Linked DNA regions of Homo sapiens: all the other regions are linked to region 2. The links are contacts of gene promoters, found by promoter capture Hi-C in blood cells and fetal thymus (Javierre and others, 2016). All regions are on one chromosome and are shown on one strand. Each heading gives the region's core, a stretch centred on a gene start or on the middle of the fragment in contact. The rest is flanking DNA. Distances are from core to core; before and after follow the strand shown.

Region 1 (2,769 bases), core at 186-2,685, 230 kb before region 2:
GGGCCTGCTGCCACTAACTAGGATGAGCCCCAGCGAGGAGGAGGCCCAGGACTGAGATGTGGAAGGGATTCCAAGGTTACCTTTCCGAGAGGAAACCCAGGCCTCCAGGAAGCAGCCTGCTCAAGACCCAAGGCCGAGTACAGCAGCATCAGGGCTAACTGAGAGCTGGCAAAATTGTGAAGATGACAGCGCGCATTTTAAATGTTAGTGCACCCACACAGGCAGAGCTTCAGGAGAAGGAAACCAGCGTGGATGGGAGCCTGGCTTCAACAGTAAGGAACTCCGTGTTGCTAAGTTTTTATTCTAGTTTTTAAAAACACTTTGTTCCAGTCAACATTTGGAAGATACTTACTTGGAAATATATTAGAGGGGACAAAAATTGTCTGTAGTGACTTCAGGGCTACCATGGATGACAATTTGGTGGGTGTCAAAGGATAAGCCGGGGGTGTGCTGTCATGGTCTGGCTGGCAAATTTGTCTTTTGACATTTGAAAGGGCCTTTAGTTCCTCGGAATGACTTGGGTGTGCCTCATTCATGGAGGCAGGCACTGAGTGACTTTTCAGCTCATAAACCTCTCATCAGCCATGGCAGACACAACCAGTATGATCCTCAGAAATTTCAAGTAAAGGACTCATTTCAACATGTGAAACAAGCTTGTGACTTAGATAAATAAACCATGCTTTGACAAAGCAAGGACTCTCAGGCCGGGCGCGGTGGCTCACGCCTGTAATCCCAGCACTTTGGGAGGCCGAGGAGGGCGGACCGCCTGAGGTCGGGAGTTCGAGACCAGTCTGGCCAGCATGGTGAAACCCTGTCTCTAATAAAAATACAAAAATTAGCTGGGCGTGGTGGCAGGCGCCTGTAATCCCAGCTACTCAGGAAGCTGAGGTAGGAGAATCGCTTGAACCCGGGAGGCAGAGATTGCGGTGAGCCAAGATTGCGCCATTGCACACCAGCCTGGGCAACAGAGAGAGACTCTGTCTCAAAAAAAAAAAAAAAAAAACGAAAGCAAGGACTCTCCTGGGTTACCCACCACTGACTTGATTTATAGGGTTCAATTTTCCTGTCCAAGTAGAGATCTGCACGAAAAGCTTTTCTACAACAGTCACAAGACCAGAGATGATCTGTATTGCTCAAAATATTTTGCAACTGCTTCAGACCTTGAAGCAATCCCTGTTTCAAGATCTTTCACACGCACATTTGGCAAATGTTTGTGAGGGTGAAATAAGGTTTTGTAAGAGATAAAAGCAACTAAAAACAAAGGCAGGCCAGGCTGGAGAATACAATATTCAGGATCCAAAATGCTAGACGCCCCTCCTCCAATCCATCCCAGGACATAGTTGGGCCAAGGTCCAAGTGAAGGAGGCCAAGGAAGCTCCTCAGCCAATGTCTCCAGGGGCCATGGGTCTGCCTGCAGCTGCAGCAGGAGGCCCTGGGACCCCAGGGAGCAGCAATGAGCAGCCAGCTGTCAGCCTGTCCTCTGGGTGGTGATGGAGTTGGAGCTATGAAAGGAGCTTTCAGAGACCCCAATCTTGGCCACCTCAACACAACTTTCCTTAGGTGGCTCACAGTTCCCATGGACAATTTACAAATAGAAGGTGGAAAGAAAGAGCAGGGCCACCCACTTACACTCAGAATAGAACCTTCCAAAATGACTCCTGTGAAGGAAACACATTATTAGCTATAATCTGGTATATCCGCTTGCTCTCTGTTTTAGATCCTCTCAGCAATTTATAGTCACAGACATTCCTATGACCAGTGGCCACCTTGGCAAGCTTTGGGGATGTAAGACTGTAAAGAAACAACCCCCTGGCCCCGACCAGCCCCAGACTCAGCTCCAGGCCCCCGCCAAGCCCACTCGCACAGGAAGGGCCTACTCACAGTTGCTTTCCCGGGTTCAGTGAGCCCATGTCAATCTCCTGGTCAAACTCAGTGCGAATGTCGTTGAGCGAGCCATCGTCCCCGAAGGCCCCCCACTCCATATTGATACACATCCGCCCCTCATCGCCTTCCACCATGTCGATGTGGCGCATCTCTTCCATGTAGCAGGCGTTGCTGCCCGTGCCTGCCAAAACAAGGGACGGCTATGCACACGCCTGCTCCGGCCCCTTCCCACCCCTCTTCCCTCTTATACTACTGTCCCGAGACTGCCCGGCCAGGATGGCTGGGATTTCTCACTGCAGACTCTGGGGGCATCACAATACATGGTCTAATCTTCTGCCACCCCCAACTCCATGAGTCCCTGCTCGGCTCTCCAAAGTGACTGGACCATTATCTTCTAATATGAACTACAAAGGAACACCCAGCCCATGGGCCCCTTCTCCCTTTCCAGCCCACACCCCCATCCCTTGGCCAGCACGGGCCCTTCATGCACGGTGTTCACTCACCCACAATGAGACCAATCTCACAGTTGTGGTCATCATAACCACAGGTCATCATGGTCCCAACTGTGTCATTCACCACAGCCACAATGTCGATATCAAAGTCCTGTGGAGACAAATGGGAGGGCTCTGACCTTCATCATCACAGAGGGCGACTTTCCTAACACCAGCTATATATCACTCCTCCTCCTCCTCCTCCTCCTTCTCTCTCTCTCCCCCCTCCCTCCCCATAACTCCTCCTGTGATAAGACTTTTAATTCATTCTCTCTCTGAGCCATTCCACTCCCATGTCAACATCATTCCAACTTTCTTACTTGGAAATCACATTCAAGTCTTCTTCAGGTTAAGAACTAAAGAGCTTTTCTTGTGCCAAGGCTAAGATTATTTA
Region 2 (2,700 bases), core at 77-2,576:
GCCTTCTGCCATGGGATGACACAGAAAAAATGCCCTCACTAGATGTGGGATTCTCAACCTTGGAATTCCTACCCTCCAGAATTTAAGAATACATTTCCTTTATTTACAAGTTAGTTGTTCTGTGGTATTCTGGTATAGCAACACAAAGGGGAGTAAGACAGGTAATGCTGGGGTTGAGCCTAGTAAGGTAGGTGGGGTCAGTTATAATGGACCCTCTAACCGAAAAGGAAACATAAGCCATTTTTAAGACAAAGAATGATATGATCAAAATATTTTTACAAGGACAATTCTAACATCAGTGGAAACGATAATCTGGAGATTAGAGACAGAAAGGCTAATTTGGACTATATGGGGGGAAAGAGCTGTTGAGAAGCTACCCTTTAAACTGAAACACAGGAACTCTATTGAATATCAGATTATAGTGTTTAAAAAAGGACATAGGTTAAATAGTTCTGTTCTTACCTGAGGAACAGTTGATAGGAGCAAAATGGTTTAGTGGGACTAGAATACAAGCAGGCAACTCTTTTCCTGTTGAAACATCTAACCTATCCTGTGCCACTCATTGAAATATTGCCCCACCCCACCTCCAACCTGCATCTAGACAATGAACTGAGAAAATAACAATAATAATAATAAAGAAAACAAGGAAAACTGCTTGTACATTTCTAGCTTGGAACTAGCATTATCTTTCCCTCTCCTGTGGACTAATTCAGAGAATTCCTTTTTAACCAGAGTTGAAGACCCAGACCAACCAACTGTTAAGGACCAGGACGCTCCTACCCCATCTGGAGTTCGTCAAAGGGACTATGGGAATCAACCTCAAGTAAGCGAGAATGAGTATGAAGAGAGCGACAGACCCTCTTGGAATACAGGAGTTTGAAAAGACTTAAAAGAACTTTGTGAAGGCAGCTATAACTTCCATGAGGGCAGTGACCATTGTCTGTACATCCACTGTACTCCAATCCTAGCACAATGCGTGGCACATAACGTGCCCACCACAGATGTTTAGTGAACAAAATAGCGACTGGCTGAAGGAAATGATGTGGAAGGGAAAAGTTAAAACCAAGAAAACGGTCGGTGGGGGAGCTACTGGCATGTTTCATGGGAAGGGGTAGAAAAAGAAAAATGTCAGGTTTAGCACAGCATTTCCAACAAATAGACAAAATTCTACCTAAGGGACAAAGAAGGACTGTTCTCAGGGTATCTAGGGACTTGGAGACCGTTTTCCTGAAGCGCCACCTGAAGCGCACCCTGAGGCAGCCAGGCCCCGCCTTGCCCGCAGTGAGCCTCCCGCCCAGCCGCGCCGGCCTGAGGGGGGCGCCTCCGAACGCGCGGGCGCACGCTGAGAGCCGGGAGGACCAGGTGAGGGGGCCTCCGTCTTCCGAAGACAGGTACGGTTCTCCACGCCTCGGGGAGGGAGGGCAGCCCGAGAGCAGCCGGCACCACTTCGCAGGCTGGGCTGGGCGTGGGCCGAGCTCGGGCCAGTCCTCAGGCAGGTGTTGGTTGCGCTGGCCGTGGCGGGTGCCGGCGCAAGACTGACGCCGAGAGAGGCTCCGAAATCGCTGTCGGAGTCATCCCTCCGCATACTGTTCTGGGCGGCCAGGCCTGCGCGGAGTCTGGGCCCGGAGCTTCCTCCGCGGGGCCCCCAGGCCCGAGGGCCGGGCTGCTGATCCGCCAGGCACGGTAGGCGCCATGCCGAGGGACCACGGAGGCTTCAGGGAGCCACGAGAATTTTTTTTCTTCTGGTTTTGCTTTGTTTTTGAGACGGAGTTTCACCCTTGTTGCCCAAGCTGGAGTGCAATGGCGTGATCTCGGCTCACTGCAACCTCCGCCTCCCGGGTTCAAGTGATTCTCCGCCTCAGCTTCTCGAGTAAGCTGGAATTACAGGCTCCCGCCACCACGCCTGGCTAATTTTTTTATATTTTTAGTAGAGACATGGTTTCCCTATGTTGGCCAGGCTGCTCTCGAACTCCTGACCTCGTGATCCGCCCGCCTCGGCCTCCTAAAGTGCTGCGATTACAGGCGTGAGCCACCGTGCCCGGCCACGAGAATGTTTTCATTTCGTTTAAAGTGAACCCATGAAGTCAAAGAAAGTGTTTTGATTTTTTTCTCACATCAGGAGGGGGAAATGAGATTTTTAGGGCCTACAAAATCCATTAACTTCTTTTAATCTTTTTTTAATGGAGGAAGGGGTCCACGAAGACGAAAGTGCCTTAGGGCCCACGAAATCTTTAATAGGGCCCTGCCAGAGGGAGAACCATTGAATCGTTTATCACGCGACAAAGTGAATGAGGGCTTGTAAAGGGGCCCTAACCTAGAATGCTCAGCACGGAACAGAACATCCGCAGAGGCAGACACAGCGAGAAGCCGATCTGTGAGAGGTGGATCTCCCGGGGTGCGGGCAGGGGAGGGCCTAGTGTGAGGATGGAGAGTTGGGCAGAAGGCACAAGCAGAACTTTAGGGCCAGGGTAAAGATATTGGATTCTGTTTCCAGTGGTGTAATTGGAAGTCCTTGGAGGGTTTTTAGTTTGGGCATAACTTGGTGGTTTGGAGTGGTTCAAGGCCCAGTTCCAGTTTTAACCAGTTTGCAGGGAGAATTCATTAAGCGAGTGTTCTTGGCAAAAGTGGAGAGTATAGGGTCAGAATAAGGTCAGAGCCTGTTTAGTACTATGCCCAGACACATCAGATGCATGAATTGAT
Region 3 (2,700 bases), core at 130-2,629, 250 kb before region 2:
TAAGAAGGTTCTTTGTAATTCTCCCCACCCTTGAGAATGTACTTTGTGAGATCCACTTCCTGCCTGCAAAACATTGCTCCTAACTCCACCGCCTATCCCAAAACCTATAAGAACTAATGATAAGCCCACCACCCTTTGCTGACTCTCTTTTCAGACTCAGCCCGCCTGCACCCAGGTGAAATAAACAGCCTTGTTGCTCACACAAAGCCTGTTTGATGGCCTCTTCACACGGACGCGTGAGACATACACATAGCAGCGTCTGTGGATCTTTAAAAGTATGGTGCTTAGTGGATGGAAAAAAGAGACTTTTAGCCAATAGAATTTTGTAAATTTTGTGTGCATGTAAAATTTCATGCACACAATATATGCTTTATAAAAACACATACAAAAATAAGTTGCACATCAAACACAATAACACATTTGTTGATTGTAAGTAGAGAATGGAAAATGAGGATAAAAGGGAATAAGAAAATGAAAAAGCAAGAAAGGTTTATGCAAAGACTAGAAAAGGCCCGGAATAAGGCAGAACTATAAGTAATTTAGGCTTCTGCACCTGAGGCCCAAACTAAAGAAAACAAAGCAGAAAGGAAAGAAAGAAAAGGACCCAACAGGCTTGGAAGAAGGTGGAAAAGCAATTTCCAAGCAACAAACAACTTAGGCACAGACCACCCATTTCTTTGAAGGTTTAGGATAAAGAGAAAATCTTTCCCCTTCACTCTCTGAAGGTTTGCAAAGATGAACTGACAAAAGGCAGATTAATTGGAGATAAAATGCATACAAATTTATTTTAACATGCATAAGCACAGGATAATCACAAGAGTATTACCCAATAACCCAATGAGGTCCAGATGCATATATACCCTTCTTCATAAAGGAAGAAGAGATGGGGAAAATGTGGCAATTTTTTTGAGGGATAATAAATCGGTATTAGGGAGAATGACTGGACTCAAAAGACAGAAATTAACTTGTAAATAATTCCCTTTGAAATTGAATGAGCCTAAGAGGCAGACATTATTTTGTGAAAAAGTCTGTCCAGGTGTGGTTGCATTCCTCAGGCTTCTTTTCTGAAATAGATAATGAAATATCAGGGAGAGGTTAGAGGACAGTTGTGCTCTCCCAGTTGGGTCGTCCTTATGCAGATAAAGGGGTATTAGAGAAAAGCCTCATCCTATGCTTTGGACAGACAGAGGCTTGGGGCAGGAGGGGAGCATAGAGAGCTCCTGAAGCTGCTTCTTTATTTGGCATGTCCATGCACCTTATATTGGGGTATTGTTTTCTGAGACCCAACATTCCCTGTCTGAAACTTTCCTAGAAGGTTTATATATTAAAAATTTTGTGAGTAGCTGTGGACAGAAAAATCAAGTTAGTAGCTGAATGGCAACGGGTCCCATTCAACCAGCCTCGCACTCTTGGGAATAGACCAGTTCAATAAATGGTTGGCATTGCAGATGGGATCTCAAAGGTAGGCCTCCATACATGATTTGGCAAAAAGATCCTTAATTAGAGGCATTTCTATGGAAATAAGAAAAACAAATGTCTGCAGTAGTCTATAAGCTGGTTCCTTTAGAGTCTAGAAGGCAGTCAGTTAAGAAGATTTGTGGCAATCTGACAGATTTTTTTTTGTTTGTAGTTTGCATGCACAAAGTTTGTCCAAATATAAGTGTCAGAGGCATTTGAACCAGAGCAACTTCATCTTGAATATAGGCTGGGTAAAATAAGGCTGAGACCTACTGGACTGCATTCCCAGGAGGTGAGACATTCCTAGTGACAGGATGAGATAGGAGGTCAGCACAAGATACAGGTCACAAAGACCTTGCTGATAAAACAGCAAATGGTAAAGAAGCTGGCCAAAACCCACCAAAACCAAGATGGCGATGAAAGTGACCTCTGGTCGTCCTCCTTGCTCATTATATGCTAATTATAATGCATTAGCATGCTAACAGACACTCCCACCAGTTCATGACAGTTTAAAAATGCCATAGCAACATCAGCAAGTTACCCTATATGTCTAAAAGGAGGAGGAACCTCAGTTCCAGGAATTGCCTACCCCTTTTCTAGAAAACTCATAAATAATCCACCCCTTGTTTAGTATATAATCAAGGAATAGGGCCAGGCGCGGTGGCTCACACCTGTAATACCAGCACTTTGGGAGGCCAAGGCGGATGGATCACCTGAGGTCAGGAGTTCGAGACCAGCCTGACCAATATGGTGAAACCCCATCACTACTAAAAATACAAAAATTGGATGGGTATAGTGGCGGGTGCCTGTAACCCCAGCTACTCAATAGTCTGAGGCAAGAGAGCTGCTTGAACACAGGAGGCGGAGGTTGCAGTGAGCCGAGATCACATCATTGTACTCCAGCCTGGGTGACAGAGCAAGACTGTCTCAAAAAAAAAAAAAAAAAAAAATTCAATAAGCAAAAATCTTTACTCTTTAATAGATACTTAGTTTTTCAAGTAATCAAAAGAACTAAGAAAGACAGCATGAGGCATACAGAGTCTGTCTCTCTCTTCCCTTTTAAAATTTCTTTTGTACTTTGTGCAAAAGGTGAACAGCCTTTTATTATCTTATTGATGCAAGAAAATCTTATTTAAAAGGGAAAAACAAATTTTACTTTTGTTTCATCAATACTAAAGCTAATTTTAATGAAACCTAATAAATCCACTCAATCTCAGTTTTGACCACACAAAATAACATTTT

The links. The method cuts DNA at HindIII sites, captures the fragments that hold promoters and counts their contacts. A CHiCAGO score of 5 or more calls a contact.
Region 1: a fragment that was not itself captured here is called in contact with the fragment with the promoter of M1AP in region 2 in 4 of 17 cell types (naive CD8 T cells, naive CD4 T cells, total CD8 T cells and 1 more); the score reaches 6.2 in naive CD8 T cells.
Region 3: a fragment that was not itself captured here is called in contact with the fragment with the promoter of M1AP in region 2 in 1 of 17 cell types (neutrophils); the score reaches 6.7 in neutrophils.

Annotation. Positions count from the first base shown.
Region 1 is chr2:74,873,562-74,876,330 of GRCh38, reverse strand. It overlaps HK2 (hexokinase 2), which reads right to left. Exons shown (of 18, transcript NM_000189.5): 6 at 2,388-2,487; 7 at 1,882-2,065. Among named protein-coding and RNA genes, the nearest start is that of LINC01291, 34 kb to the left of the region's middle. The HindIII fragment of the contact is 684 bases long and covers 1,094-1,777 here.
Region 2 is chr2:74,646,956-74,649,655 of GRCh38, reverse strand. M1AP (meiosis 1 associated protein) reads left to right here and starts at 1,326. Exons shown (of 11, transcript NM_001321739.2): 1 at 1,326-1,391. The HindIII fragment of the contact is 10,572 bases long and covers 1-2,700 here.
Region 3 is chr2:74,899,474-74,902,173 of GRCh38, reverse strand. No RefSeq gene overlaps it. Among named protein-coding and RNA genes, the nearest start is that of LINC01291, 8.1 kb to the left of the region's middle. The HindIII fragment of the contact is 4,070 bases long and covers 1-2,700 here.